Regions from separate parts of the Homo sapiens genome. Here region 1 is linked to region 2. The links are contacts of gene promoters, found by promoter capture Hi-C in human tissues and cell types (Jung and others, 2019). All regions are on one chromosome and are shown on one strand. Each heading gives the region's core, a stretch centred on a gene start or on the middle of the fragment in contact. The rest is flanking DNA. Distances are from core to core; before and after follow the strand shown. Region 1 overlaps ALKBH5 (alkB homolog 5, RNA demethylase). Region 2 holds the start of TVP23B (trans-golgi network vesicle protein 23 homolog B).

Region 1 (6,235 bases), core at 2,613-5,112, 590 kb after region 2:
GGCGTATATGCTTTTGCTCAGTCCTAAACTCCCTAAATAGAGTACTTAATTTTCTGATAAAACAACAAAACAACTTTATCCTCACAGGATTCAAATAAAAAGAGAACTTAACAGTTCTGCTCTCCACTCTGCCATGCCACTGATACATAGGAGCTGAGTTCTAAGTGGACCCAGAGCTACATCTCCAGACAGGCCTGCAGGTGAGGCAGAAGGTCAGACATCAAGGCACTTACTTCCTGAGGATGATGACTGCTCGGCGCTCCTTGATGTCCTGAGGCCGTATGCAGTGAGTGATTTCATCAGCAGCATATCCACTGAAAAGAAACACAGAACATGTGACCATGAAGAGTAGACAGACAACCAAAGTTCCTGGGGGATATAACAGGACAGGAACATGGCCTAGGTCTTACGGCTGCTCTCTACCCATTACTTGAGAGTTTCAAGGATCTACATGGAAGGGAATATCATATTAAGTTCCAGGATGCTTTTGCCAAGAGACTGTAATACTCAAGGAAAAACCTGGTATGACACAAAGGAGACCCCTTGGCCACTTAAGGCAGAGGCTGGAAGCAAGACTCTCCCTGAACAGGCCAGGAACCCTTTTTTAAAAGGGTACTCCAGAGAGTACACTGTAGCTCCTCCTCATTCTCCCTCCATTTAGCAGGTAGAGAAAGCCAAGGCAGCCACTGATAGCACTGAGTCACCAGGGAGAGCTAGGACTGCCTCATTCCAAAATAGAATATCTACATGAAGTCTCCATTTGGGGGGATCCAAAATTTTGAAGACAGTTGTGTTTGAATATTTTAAGAATTTCCGGCTGGGCGTGATGGCTCATGCCTGTAATCCTAGCACTTTGGGAGGCCGAGGTGGGCGGATCACCTGAAATCAGGAGTTCGAGACCAGCCTGGCCAACATGGCGAAACCCCATCTCTACTAAAAATACAAAAATTAGCCAGGCATGGTGGTGGGCGCCTGTAATCCCAGCTACTTGGGAGGCTGAGGCAGGAGAATCGCTTGAACCTAGGAGGCAGAAGTTGCAGTGAGCCAAGATCACGCCCACTGCACCTGGGCAACAGAGCGAGACTCTGTCCCCACCACTGACCCCCACCCCCTGCCCCCCGCCCAAAAAAAAAGGATTTCCATCATACTCAGATATCTGTTTATTTTCAACAAGTTACATGACTTTTAAAACCGCTCAGAGACCAACTAATGTGGGTAGATGACTGTCCTCTTCTCAGCTAGCGTCATTCCAATTTGAAACTCTGGAAGCAAGCTCTGAGCTTCCTATACCCCTCACATGCTATCACTGGAAGCATGGCAGCCACAAGATACTCCCACTCCAAGTTACTCTACTGAGCTGCAGCAGTTCTACACACCCAGAAACTCAGCCACAAGCCTAGTAGGACAAGTATGGCTTAGTTTCCCTACCTGGCCCTGTACCACAAACCCTTCTCTCATGGCTGCTGATCAGCTCCCTTCTCAAAGGCTAGTTGTACAGACACAAACTTAACTATTAAAAACACTGCAGGCCTGGGAAGGACCCCTCAAGATGGCCAGGCTGGCCAAACCTCAGCTCTAATAACTGGATGCAAGAGCCAACAAGAGATAAAAAGCCAGACTGCTTCAGGCTCAGCCTTAAGGAAGCACCTCTGATTTGGAAATCTGATTTGAGCTCATGCTGGGGATAGAACAAACCTTTATTTTATTTAATTTTTTTTTTTTTTGAGACAGTCTCACTCTGTCACCCAGGTTGGAGTGCAGTGGCACAATCTCGGCTCACTGCAACCTCTGCCTACCGGGTTCAAGCGATTCTCCTGCCTCAGCCTCCCAAGTAGCTGGGACTACAGGCGCACCCCACCACGCCTGTCTAATTTTTGTTATTTTCAGTAGAGATGGGGTTTCACTATGTTGGTCAGGATGGTCTTGAACTCCTGACCTCGTGATCCGCCAGCCTCGGCCTCCCAAAGTGCTGGGATTACAGGTGTGAGCCACCGCGCCCGGCCCAAACCTTTATTTTATAGATCCACCTTCTCCCTCAAGCTGCTCCTAGACAAGAATTTTTCAAAATTTTCTCCATGAACACCAGTCCCATAAGAGACAGTAGACAGGCTAGGCACGGTGGCTCACGCCTGTAATCCCACCCAGCACTTTGGGAGGCCAAGGTGGGCATGTTGCCTGAGGTTAGGAGTTCGTAACCAGTCTGGCCGACATGGTGAAACCCCGTCTCTACAAAAATACAAAAATAAGCCAGGCATGATGGCAGGTGCCTGTAATTCCAGCTATCGCAGAGGCTGAGGCAGGAGAATCGCTGAACCTGGGAGGTGGAGGTTGCCGTGAGCCGAGATAGTGCCACTGCACTCCAGCCTGGGTGACAGAGTGAGACTCCGTCTCAAAAAAAAAAAAAAAAAAAAAAAGAAAAAGACAGTGGACGAATGTCTACAGTGAAATCAATTTGTAAAATACTGATTAGAGTTTCAAAAAGCATTAATATATTTAAAGCACATGAGAATTACTACAGCAAAAGAACCCACTGACTTTGAGCACTTACCAAAGAACCTTCTCTCATAATACCTATTAATACCCATCAGCCCACAGTGAGAAGTACCACACAGGAGTTAGTGAGTTGAAGAGACCTGGGTTCAAATGTGAGCTTTGTCTCCTACTAGCTTTGTGACCTTTGTTAAATCACATGCTGAACCTAAAAACCTGTACAGTTTCTTCATCTGTAATAAGGAGAACAGTAGGTTCTTGGGTATTCATTTTGTTATGCTTTATAATTTAGCTATTCTTTTGCTGCTACTAATATTACAAGATTTTAAAAATGGGGACAGTTTTAAAGATTACAAGATTAAAGTTTTTAAGATTACAAGATTTTAAAAACGGGGCCTCCTCCCTTCCAGGCAGAAAAACAGCATTATATGACTACTTGGTTGACACTCCTGGAAAGGGGTGGTGAGAGGCCTACCTGCAGGGGTATTGCGAGAATTAAGTCAGATAATGCAGGGTGCCTGACACCCTACAATCTTTACTAAGCACTCTGACAAAAGTCAGAGGGCCCTGGACTATCCTGGGGCAAGCCAGAGCCCTGGATTCAGCATCTGCCAAAGAGACATGGTCTGGGCTCCCCCTGCAGGGATCTGCCAGTAGTGGGGGCCGCCTGGGCCCCATTTCCAGAGCTAGGAACTCTAGTTCTCATCCCATGCTTTTATCATTCCACACTGGGGGAATGGGGGTCTAGACTGCAAGACTGTCCCATATAGACACACAATACTTTCCCAAAGAGCTGTCAAAGGTCTCAAAGGCACTTTTTTTTTTTTTTAAAGACAGAGTCTCACTCTGTTGCCCAGGCTGGAGTGCAGTGGCATGATCTTGGCTCACTGTAACCTCCACGTCCCAGGTTCAAGCAATTCTCCTGCCTCAGACCCCCAAGTAACTGGGACTACAGGCTAATTTTTGTATGTTTAGTGAAGACTGTTTCCCCATGTTGGCCAGGCTGGTCTCGATCTCCTGATCACACGTGATCCACCCACCTCGGCCTCCCAAAGTGCTGGGATTACAAGTGTGAGCCACCATGCTCGGCCCCAGAGGCACGTTTCTAAGTCCTGAATCTGCAGTGCTGGCTACAGGCAACCTTCCCTGCCATTGACAAGTGTTATCAATCTGTTTGACTTGGCTATATGCATAACCAAGGGCCCTGACTTCCCATCTCCAACAAGGAACCACTTTTCTTAATGCAGTTCTGGAGCAAATCCAGATGTTTGTCAAAGCTTGACTGCCCGCATGCTCCCTGACCCCATCCCCCAAAGGGCTCTAGAACAAACAATAAGCCATGTCAGGTTCCTGCCACGGAGCCCAGGCCTTGGAAGAACTAGTATGGAGGTAGGGCTGCACAGGCCCACAAAAATGACTTTGGCACTGACCCAACCTGGAAGGCTTATTAGTACTGGTCTTCTAGAACTTCCTAGCAGCTATGACACAGCCCACTGACCCTTTCCTCAGAATATCCGGCTGCTCTGGCAACATGAGCTCAAAGTCCTGATTAAGGGAAGCTCTCCTGGCCAATCTCACAAAATGTCGAGCAGAGACCACAGGGTATTATTTACTATTAAGGAACCTACTTGCTACAAAATAAATTGTCTGAAAGTCTCAGTCGGCCAGCTTGCAACTTAATATGCCCTTGGGTCCAGCCCTACTGCTGGCATGAAAAGTTCCAGGACCTCCTGCTTTTTTGTTTTCACAGGGAAAGGAGAAGAGGAAATAACCTTATGCCATCTGGCTTGCCTGCTCCCTCTCTGGGCTGAGCCCCCAGCCCCAGCCCCAGAGGCACTGACCAGTATATGTTGCAAATGTCACCCACTAGTCCTATACCTCAGAGTGACTCTCGAAGGAGCTGACATGTCTATCTCCTCTTTTGGGGGCCTTTCCCTGACTGCCCAGGCTGGGTTCCCCCTACATTGCTCAACCACACCCTCTCATGCCTCTTTGCTATTCCATCTGGCCTTGTGGAAATTGTGTCTTCCCTTCAAGACAAAGCTCTTCAAAGGCCTTACTCATCCCTGCACAGTGGACACTAAATGAAATGTGTGTTGAGCTGAACTATTCTACCACTTAGAACCTGTTTCTGCCTCTGCAAAACAAAGATCACAGCAAGCCCCTCCTCAGAAGATTAGGTGCAAATTAAATGAGGTGTCTGAAATTTTTTTTTTTTTTTTTTTTTTCGGAAACAGAGTCCCACTCTGTTGCCTAGGCTGGAATGCAGTGGCGCAATCTTGGCTCACTGCAACCTCTAGCTCCTGGGTTCAAGCAATTCTCTGCCTCAGCCTCCCGAGTAGCTGGGATTACAGGTGCCTGCCACCACGCCCGGCTAATTTTTGTATTTTTAGTAGAGACGGGCTTTCACCATCTTGGCCATTCTTGTCTTGAATTCCTGACCTCAGGTGATCCACCCGCCCTGGCCTCCCAAAGTGCTGGGATTACAGGCATGAGCCACCGCACCTGGCCCTGAAAAATTCTTTAAAGAAACTATGCAGGACTGTACATCTCTCCTCTAGGGGACGGTCTTGGAAACTGAGTTGTTATGACACATTTCCAAGATGGCCACCATTTTCCATCTACTCCATGCCCTGCCTAGGCCAGGATGAACCAGAGATGGAGGGACTGTCCAAGATCCCAGCCTGGTGACTGTCTCTCTCCAGCTATGGCTACCTGCCTTACTGACAGACCCACAGGACCAAGAAGGTCAGGCTTTTGGGGGCAGCAGACCAGCCACCTGGACCCAGGGGCAGGATTGTGAGCTCAGGCTCAATTATTTACCAGACCCAAGCCTCCAAGACGACCCATGGCCTAACTTTATAAGAAGTCCTGGGGCTTTCTGAATCCAGAGGGAAGGTCAACCTGCCAAGTCCCAATTCTGTACACACCAAGATAGACAGTACTAAACACAGAAGGTAGCCCATCTCCTGAGACACTTTTAGCTAAATTTCAAGCATTCAATAGATGACAAAGATTCAACTTTCTATAACAACTCTATAGCATCATTAGACTGGTTTTGCAGATGAGGAAAACTGAGGCCTCAAAAAGCTTAATTTCCCCGAAGTCAACGAGTTAAAATGGTGGTGCTGTAACTCCAACCAAGTCTGCTGTCAAACTTTCTGGATTTTGTTGTGGAGGCGGTAGGAAGAAAAGCCCATCTGTGTTTCCTGGTAGCAAGCCTGTCCAGGGGGCCTTGCTGGCCTCACCAAAGGGCACACGTACACCCACTAGCCCCATGAAAGAGATTTGCAGAGATGAACCTATATCCCCCAGAGAGCTAGCACTGTATCAGTGAAGGCTATCCACCAACTGGCCAGCCAGCTCTGAATTTTCTTTTTCTTTTTTTTGAGACGGAGTCTTGCTCTGTCGCCCAGGCTGCCAGGCTGGAGTTCAGTGGCATGATCTCGGTTCACTGCAAGCTCCGCCTCCCGGGTTCGTGCCATTCTGCCGCCTCAGCATCCCAAGTAGCTGGGACTACAGGCGCCCGCCACCACACCCAGCTAATTTTGTTTTTTGTATTTTTAGTAGAGACAGGGTTTCACCATGCTAGCCAGGATGGTCTCGATGTCCTGACCTCGTGATCCACCCACCTCGGCCTCCCAAAGTGCTGGGATTACAGGCGTGAGCCACCGCGCCCGGCCTTGAAATTTTTTTTTTTATTATTTTTTTTGAGACGGAGTCTCACTCTACAGCACAGGCTGGA
Region 2 (5,867 bases), core at 359-2,858:
TGGTCGTCCTCACTACTAGACTCCCATCAGCGCCATGCCAGTTTACAAATGCCATGGCAACATCAGGAAGTTACTCTCTATGATCTAAAAGGGGAGGAATGAATAATCCACCCCTTGTTAACCATACCACTAAGAAATACCCATAAAAATGGGCCACCAGCAGCCCTCCAGGTTGCTCTATGGAGTAGCCACTCCTTTACTTTCTTAATAAACTTGCTTTCACTTTGCACTGTGGACTCACCCTGAATTCCTTCTTGCCTGATCCAAGACTTTTTTTGTTTTGTTTGAGACGGAGTCTCCCTCTGTAGCCAGGCTGGATGGAGTGCAGTGGCCCGCGGCTCACTGCAACCTCAGCCTCCCCAGTTCAAGCGATTCTCCTGCCTCAGCCTCCCGAGTAGCTGGGACTACAGGCGTGCACCATCACGCCCAACTAATTTTTGTATTTTTAGTAGAGACAGGGTTTCACCAAGTTGGCCAGGATGGTCTCGATCTCTTGACCTCATGATCCACCCACCTCGTCCTCCCAAAGTGCTGGGATTACAGGCCTGAGTCACCACGCCCGGCCAAGGACCCTCTTTTCGGGTCTGGATCGGGACACCTTTCCTGTAATACAGCTGAATTTAACCATTATTAGATTTTCTCCACTCAAGGCATCTCCTCATAAGCAGTCTTTCCTGACCATAAATCTTAGTTGTCCTATCCTCAGACACTTGTTATTTCATCACCCTGCCTTTGCAATTATCTGAAAATATCTTTGGTTATACAATTTATCGTGTCTCCCCACCCAACCCCCATCTCCTAGAACCCACTTCCCTAACCCAAAAATACGGGGCAAGAAACCTGTCTGTACTGGTCACAACCCTATCCCTGGGCCTACAACCGTGTCTGAGTCATAGTAATCCCTCAACAAATTTTGTGTGAACCGAAAGAAAAAAACACTTAAGACAATCTAAGTGACCATAAACAGTAGTTTTTTCTAAAAATATTATTAATCTTACGAGTCTCTGGTTGCCAACATGTGGACTACAATTAACTCTAAGAGCACAAAGGAGAGAATCACCAACAACATTAGTTTGGAAACAGCAATTTGAAAGCGAGGCTCTGGCGGTGTCGCCGATTCCTACAAAATAGCATCGCACCCCTGGGTGTCAGGAAGCTAAGAGGCCCGCAGGCCGCTCCTCCTCAACTCCACCCCGGCAATAAGGGTTGAGGAAAGAGAGACCCCCACTCGCGCTGGTTAACAATGGGCGTCCCCACAGCCGCAAGAAGTACTTGCTCTGCGCCGCACGGGTCACGCCGCCCCCAGCGGCCTCAGAACCCCCAGCAGCCCTCCTCAGACAACTACCCACAGCCCTCCACTCCCGGCCGCCCCGCTCCTCCTCGAGTTCGAGTAGCGGGCGCGGGGGACGCGGGCTCCAGTCCCACGGAACCTGCAGAGCCAGTCCCAGGAGCCGCCACCCTCCCAGCGAGCCCTCAGCCCCTCACCTGCTGCAACATGGCGGCCCTACGCCAGCCCTACTTCCGGGAGCCACGTCAGCGCAGCAGCGTACGGGTCCGGGTCGGAACTGAGGCGACCCGTCACCAAGGGCCAGCAGGGACCACTGTAAGAGCCTCAGTCCGGCCTCACTTCCGCTTTGAGGGAGCAAATCCAGGGGCGGGGCGAGCGGGGGCGGGGCGAGCGGCCCGGACACGGCGGAGGCGGAGCCTGGAGCAGGAGCGAAAGGGAAAGGTATTGGGGCCACAGTGGGCTCTAAGTGGAAAGCTTCATGGTCTGTTTTACGGAAGTATTTGCTGTCCACCCAATGCAAATTCTAAAGTCGTTCCCCCAGTGTCGCTGCCCCGAATGCAGGGGGGCGGGGTTTTATTGTATAATATAATTTTCTTTAAATATTTTACAAAGACTTACTCCTGTACAGTATTACTTTTGTACTTTAAATTGTAGAAGCAACTTTTTAAAATATGTTCTTGCAGAGAAGTAAAACGTTAAGAAAAACAAGGCAGGAGGACTCTAGAGTAACTAATGGACGGTATTATTATGGGAGGTATAAACTTAGACGCCAGGAGTTGAGACCTTGCGCCCTGGAGCTTAGGCGCCTGGGAACTCTATTGCCAATCATATCACCAACCTTTATGTACTTCTTTCATCAGTTGTAAAGTGGGGGTGATAATGGTTTCCTTACAGTGTAAGTATCTAGTAAATGGGAGACGTTATACTTACTACAGTTTTAAGTCCAGCCGCTCATGCTGTGATCTTGCCTGAACAAAGGATGTGAAATTAAGGGGCGTTAAGTCATCTTTGAAGCGGTGATGATGACAATATCCTATCTGTCTGGCCGAGTCAGACTGCTGTTGGCATAGTGGTATTTGCACGTGTCCTTAATTGAAGGGATTCTATTAAAATCACAAATTTTACGTGGCTGATTGCCAGTGCCATTTAAAACCTGATATTCTAATAATGAAAGGGGGAAAACACACACACGCGTTTCTAAAGGCAAGACATTTCGGCAGCACAATTGCATTCGTGCCCTTGGAGATGAAAAGCTAACAAATTTGGGGCCTGTACGTCCAGCCTGCCCATGGCAGGTTTTCAGTGGTCCACTCAGTGCTGTGGAGTTTTGTGTTGTTTTTCGTAGTTTTTGGTTTTTTAAGACATTGTGTTTGAATTCATTATCGTCTTTTAATTTTTAATAGCTAATTTTTAAAGCTAATTTTGTATTTTTAGTAGAAACGAGGTTTCACCACGATGGTCAGGCTGGTATCAAACTCCTGATCTCAGGTGAGCCACCCGCCTCAGTCTCCCAAAGTGCTGGGACTACAGGCGTGAGCCACCGCACCTGGTCAAGGCTTGAACTTTCTAATGGGCCATAGCTCTTGTAGTGGGCTGCACTCTTCTAAATTACCTGGTCCCTGCACCATAGTCCAAAGGTTTAAGCAGAAACCTCAATGCACTTGATGTTACTGGCCCTCTTTGTACAGAGGATAAATATGCTAATTCTCTTCCTTAGGAGTTAGCCCTGAGAAGGAAAAGCTCAATGTTGTCAAATGCAACAGGTCCACCCCACTGAGGGCTTCCCCTTTTAAATTCTTAATGGGTTTTATCAGGCTTCTGTGCAAAAATACCAGAAAACACCAATGCATGACCCTGATATAATCCCATAACTTCATTTGCCAGAAGAACTAATAGCACTAAATTGGTAGTGATGAATGGTATCTAATTTCCAGTGATCATCTCCCCATCCCCCATCAACGAAACTGGGCTTTCCTAATGCTCACTAAATTGTTTTCAGTGGGACTACAGATGCTAATCTCGCCCAACCTCCTTCTGTTTTCTTATTTTGATGATATCAAATATTTGGCTCAGAGGAAGATAACTGGGAGTTCCCACATTAATTACCAGGAAGAAACAGTCAAAAAAAAAAAAAAAAAGGCCAAATAGCAACATCCGCTTGGCTTTCTGTTTATTGTAAAACATTGTAATTTCCCAAGGCTGGTTTAGATAAATACATTTTGTCCAAGTTCAGGGGCCGCTGTTTTCCCTTGCTTCGTGAAATTATCAATAGGCAGGCCTTTGATCTTCCTGATCCATGCAGCTTTGCTGACTTTTCCTGGATCAACCACTCCAGTGGACTCCCTGGCCTGATATTCCTTCATCTTGGCTTCCTGGTGCTCCTTCTCCTCCTTCACGGTCAACAGCACGAACTCAGTGTTCACTCTAAAAGGATCAAGGGCTGTATAGATGCGAGGCCGTTCTTTCTTAAGAGACAGGGTGGCTGTGCCCACTTGTGGAGCTAGCATGCGGTTTGGTTTAATGACCTGCATACTGGTCAGGGGACCCGTACTGCACACAGCCCTTTCAATTGAACTGGTCACTTGGTCTCCACCCTTTAAGCTGCCAGAGAACCTGGAGCGGATAATCATGGGCTGGGGTATGGTGGACTGGACTCTAGGACTGTGCAAAGAGATCTTCAAGTTGGGCTGCAGTTTCTGGATTTCAAGGGGAATACTGGTTCGTTTCACATCTATAGGAGGATTGCTCAATCTCAACCGATCAACTGCACGTTGGATTGATTTTCCTTTGAAATTCAAGACCTTCCTTGGGTATGAAATTGAAGGTCCCCAGACATCAGTAATTTCTGTTTGGGGCCTACAGGGATAGGCAAATTCCCCGGAATTATGGGCGTGCTGCAGGGCGCTAACAGTCAGGAGGAATTGGTCAGGTGACATAGGGATTTTCCAAGACTTTTTCTTTGGGTGACTGGGCAGTTTTCCAGGAGTTTCCAATTGTCCTTGTTTTTGTGCTTTCTCCACATCATCTGCTTTTTCAAAAAAAAGAAAATTTTAAAAAATCGGCGTTCTATGAAAAATATTAAGTACGTATGCATTAAGTACTTGGGCATTCAAACTTCGAAGCACATTGAGGTCTTTGTTGCCCAACAGGTATGCCATCATACAGGCAGGCACCCTGAGTGGTATTAGAAATGCTGATACTAGAAACAATTTAATAAAACAAATTTTTTTGTTTGTTTGTTTTTGTTTTTGAGACGGAGTCTCGCTCTGTCACCCAGGCTGGAGTGCAGTGGCATGATCTCTGCTCACTGCAAGCTCTGCCTTCCGGGTTCACGCCGTTCTCCTGCCTCAGCCTCCCAAGTAGCTGAGACTACAGGCGTCCGCCACCATGCCTGGCTAATTTTTTGTATTTTTTTTAGTAGAGACAGGGTTTCACCGTGTTAGCCAGGATGGCCTCGATCTCCTGACCTCGTGATCCACCCGCCTCGGCCTCCCAAAGTGCTGGGATTACAGGCATGAGCCACCGCAGCCGGCCAATAAAACAAGTTTTTAATAAAATGCTAGTATTGAGTAAAGAGTATATTAGCCTCTAAGTGAGCATATTTTGAATGCAACAGATGTGATTTCAATGCTACACATATTTTTGAAAATGTGAAGTTGAGGCCGGGCGCGGTGGCTCACGCCTGTAATCCCCACACTTTGGGAGACCCAGGAGGGTGGATCACGAGGTCAGGAGATCCAGACCATCCTGGCTAACACGGTGAAACCCCGTCTCTACTAAAAATACAAAAAATTAGCCCGGCATGGCGGCGGGCGCCTGTAGTCCCAGCTACTCGGGAGGCTGAGGCAGGAGAATGGCATGAACCCAGGAGGCAGAGCTTGCAGTAAGCCAAGATCGCGCCACTGCACTCCAGCCTGGGCGACAGAGCAAGACTCAGTCTCAAAAAAAAAAAAAGAAAATGTGAAGTTGGGAATGACCTTCACATCTCATTTATGATTCACACAAAGCAGATCTTATAAATTTATAGTAGCATAACTATTTTTCAACAGTAATTATGTTGCAAAATTTGATCTTTACCTTATTAATCAAATTTGACTCCAAGTAATCTTGAATGTTGCCCAAAATAAAACCTGTCTTCAGGCTGGGTGCGGTGGCTCATGCCTGTAATCCCAGCACTTTGGGAGGCCTAGGTGGGTAGATCACCTGAGGTCGGGAGTTCGAGACCAGCCTGACCAACATGGAGAAAACCCGTCTGTACTAAAAATACAAAAAAATTAGCCGGGCGTGGTGGCAGGCGCCTGTAATCCTAGCTACTGAGGAGGCTGAGGCAGGAGAATCGCTTGAACTCAGGAGGCAGAGGTTGCGGTGAGCCGAGATCACGCCACTGCACTCCAGCCTGGGCAACAGAGTGAGACTCCATCTCAAAAAAAAAAAAAAAAACTGAGTGAAATCAAGATGTCAAAATCTTCCCTATTCTCCTTGCAAACTCAAAAAGAGAATTTTTCTCCTTTTATAAAAAAAGGAATTGTGATGAGCTCATTGTTTATTAATTTGTCTTTTTTCAAATGATAATGTATTG

Evidence for each region. Contacts are between HindIII fragments. The study calls those that stand out against the background at their distance.
Region 1: a contact is called between a fragment that was not itself captured here and the fragment with the promoter of TVP23B in region 2, in 1 of the 25 tissues and cell types used here (hippocampus).

The regions. Positions count from the first base shown.
Region 1 is chr17:18,189,034-18,195,268 of GRCh38, reverse strand. ALKBH5 (alkB homolog 5, RNA demethylase) reads right to left here. Exons shown (of 4, transcript NM_017758.4): 2 at 234-314. Among named protein-coding and RNA genes, the nearest start is that of ALKBH5, 8.3 kb to the right of the region's middle. The HindIII fragment of the contact is 6,402 bases long and covers 662-6,235 here.
Region 2 is chr17:18,776,924-18,782,790 of GRCh38, reverse strand. TVP23B (trans-golgi network vesicle protein 23 homolog B) reads right to left here and starts at 1,608. Exons shown (of 7, transcript NM_016078.6): 1 at 1,486-1,608. The coding sequence starts at 1,497. FBXW10 (F-box and WD repeat domain containing 10) reads right to left here. Exons shown (of 14, transcript NM_001267585.2): 14 at 3,442-4,316. The coding sequence ends at 3,493. The HindIII fragment of the contact is 28,552 bases long and covers 1-5,867 here.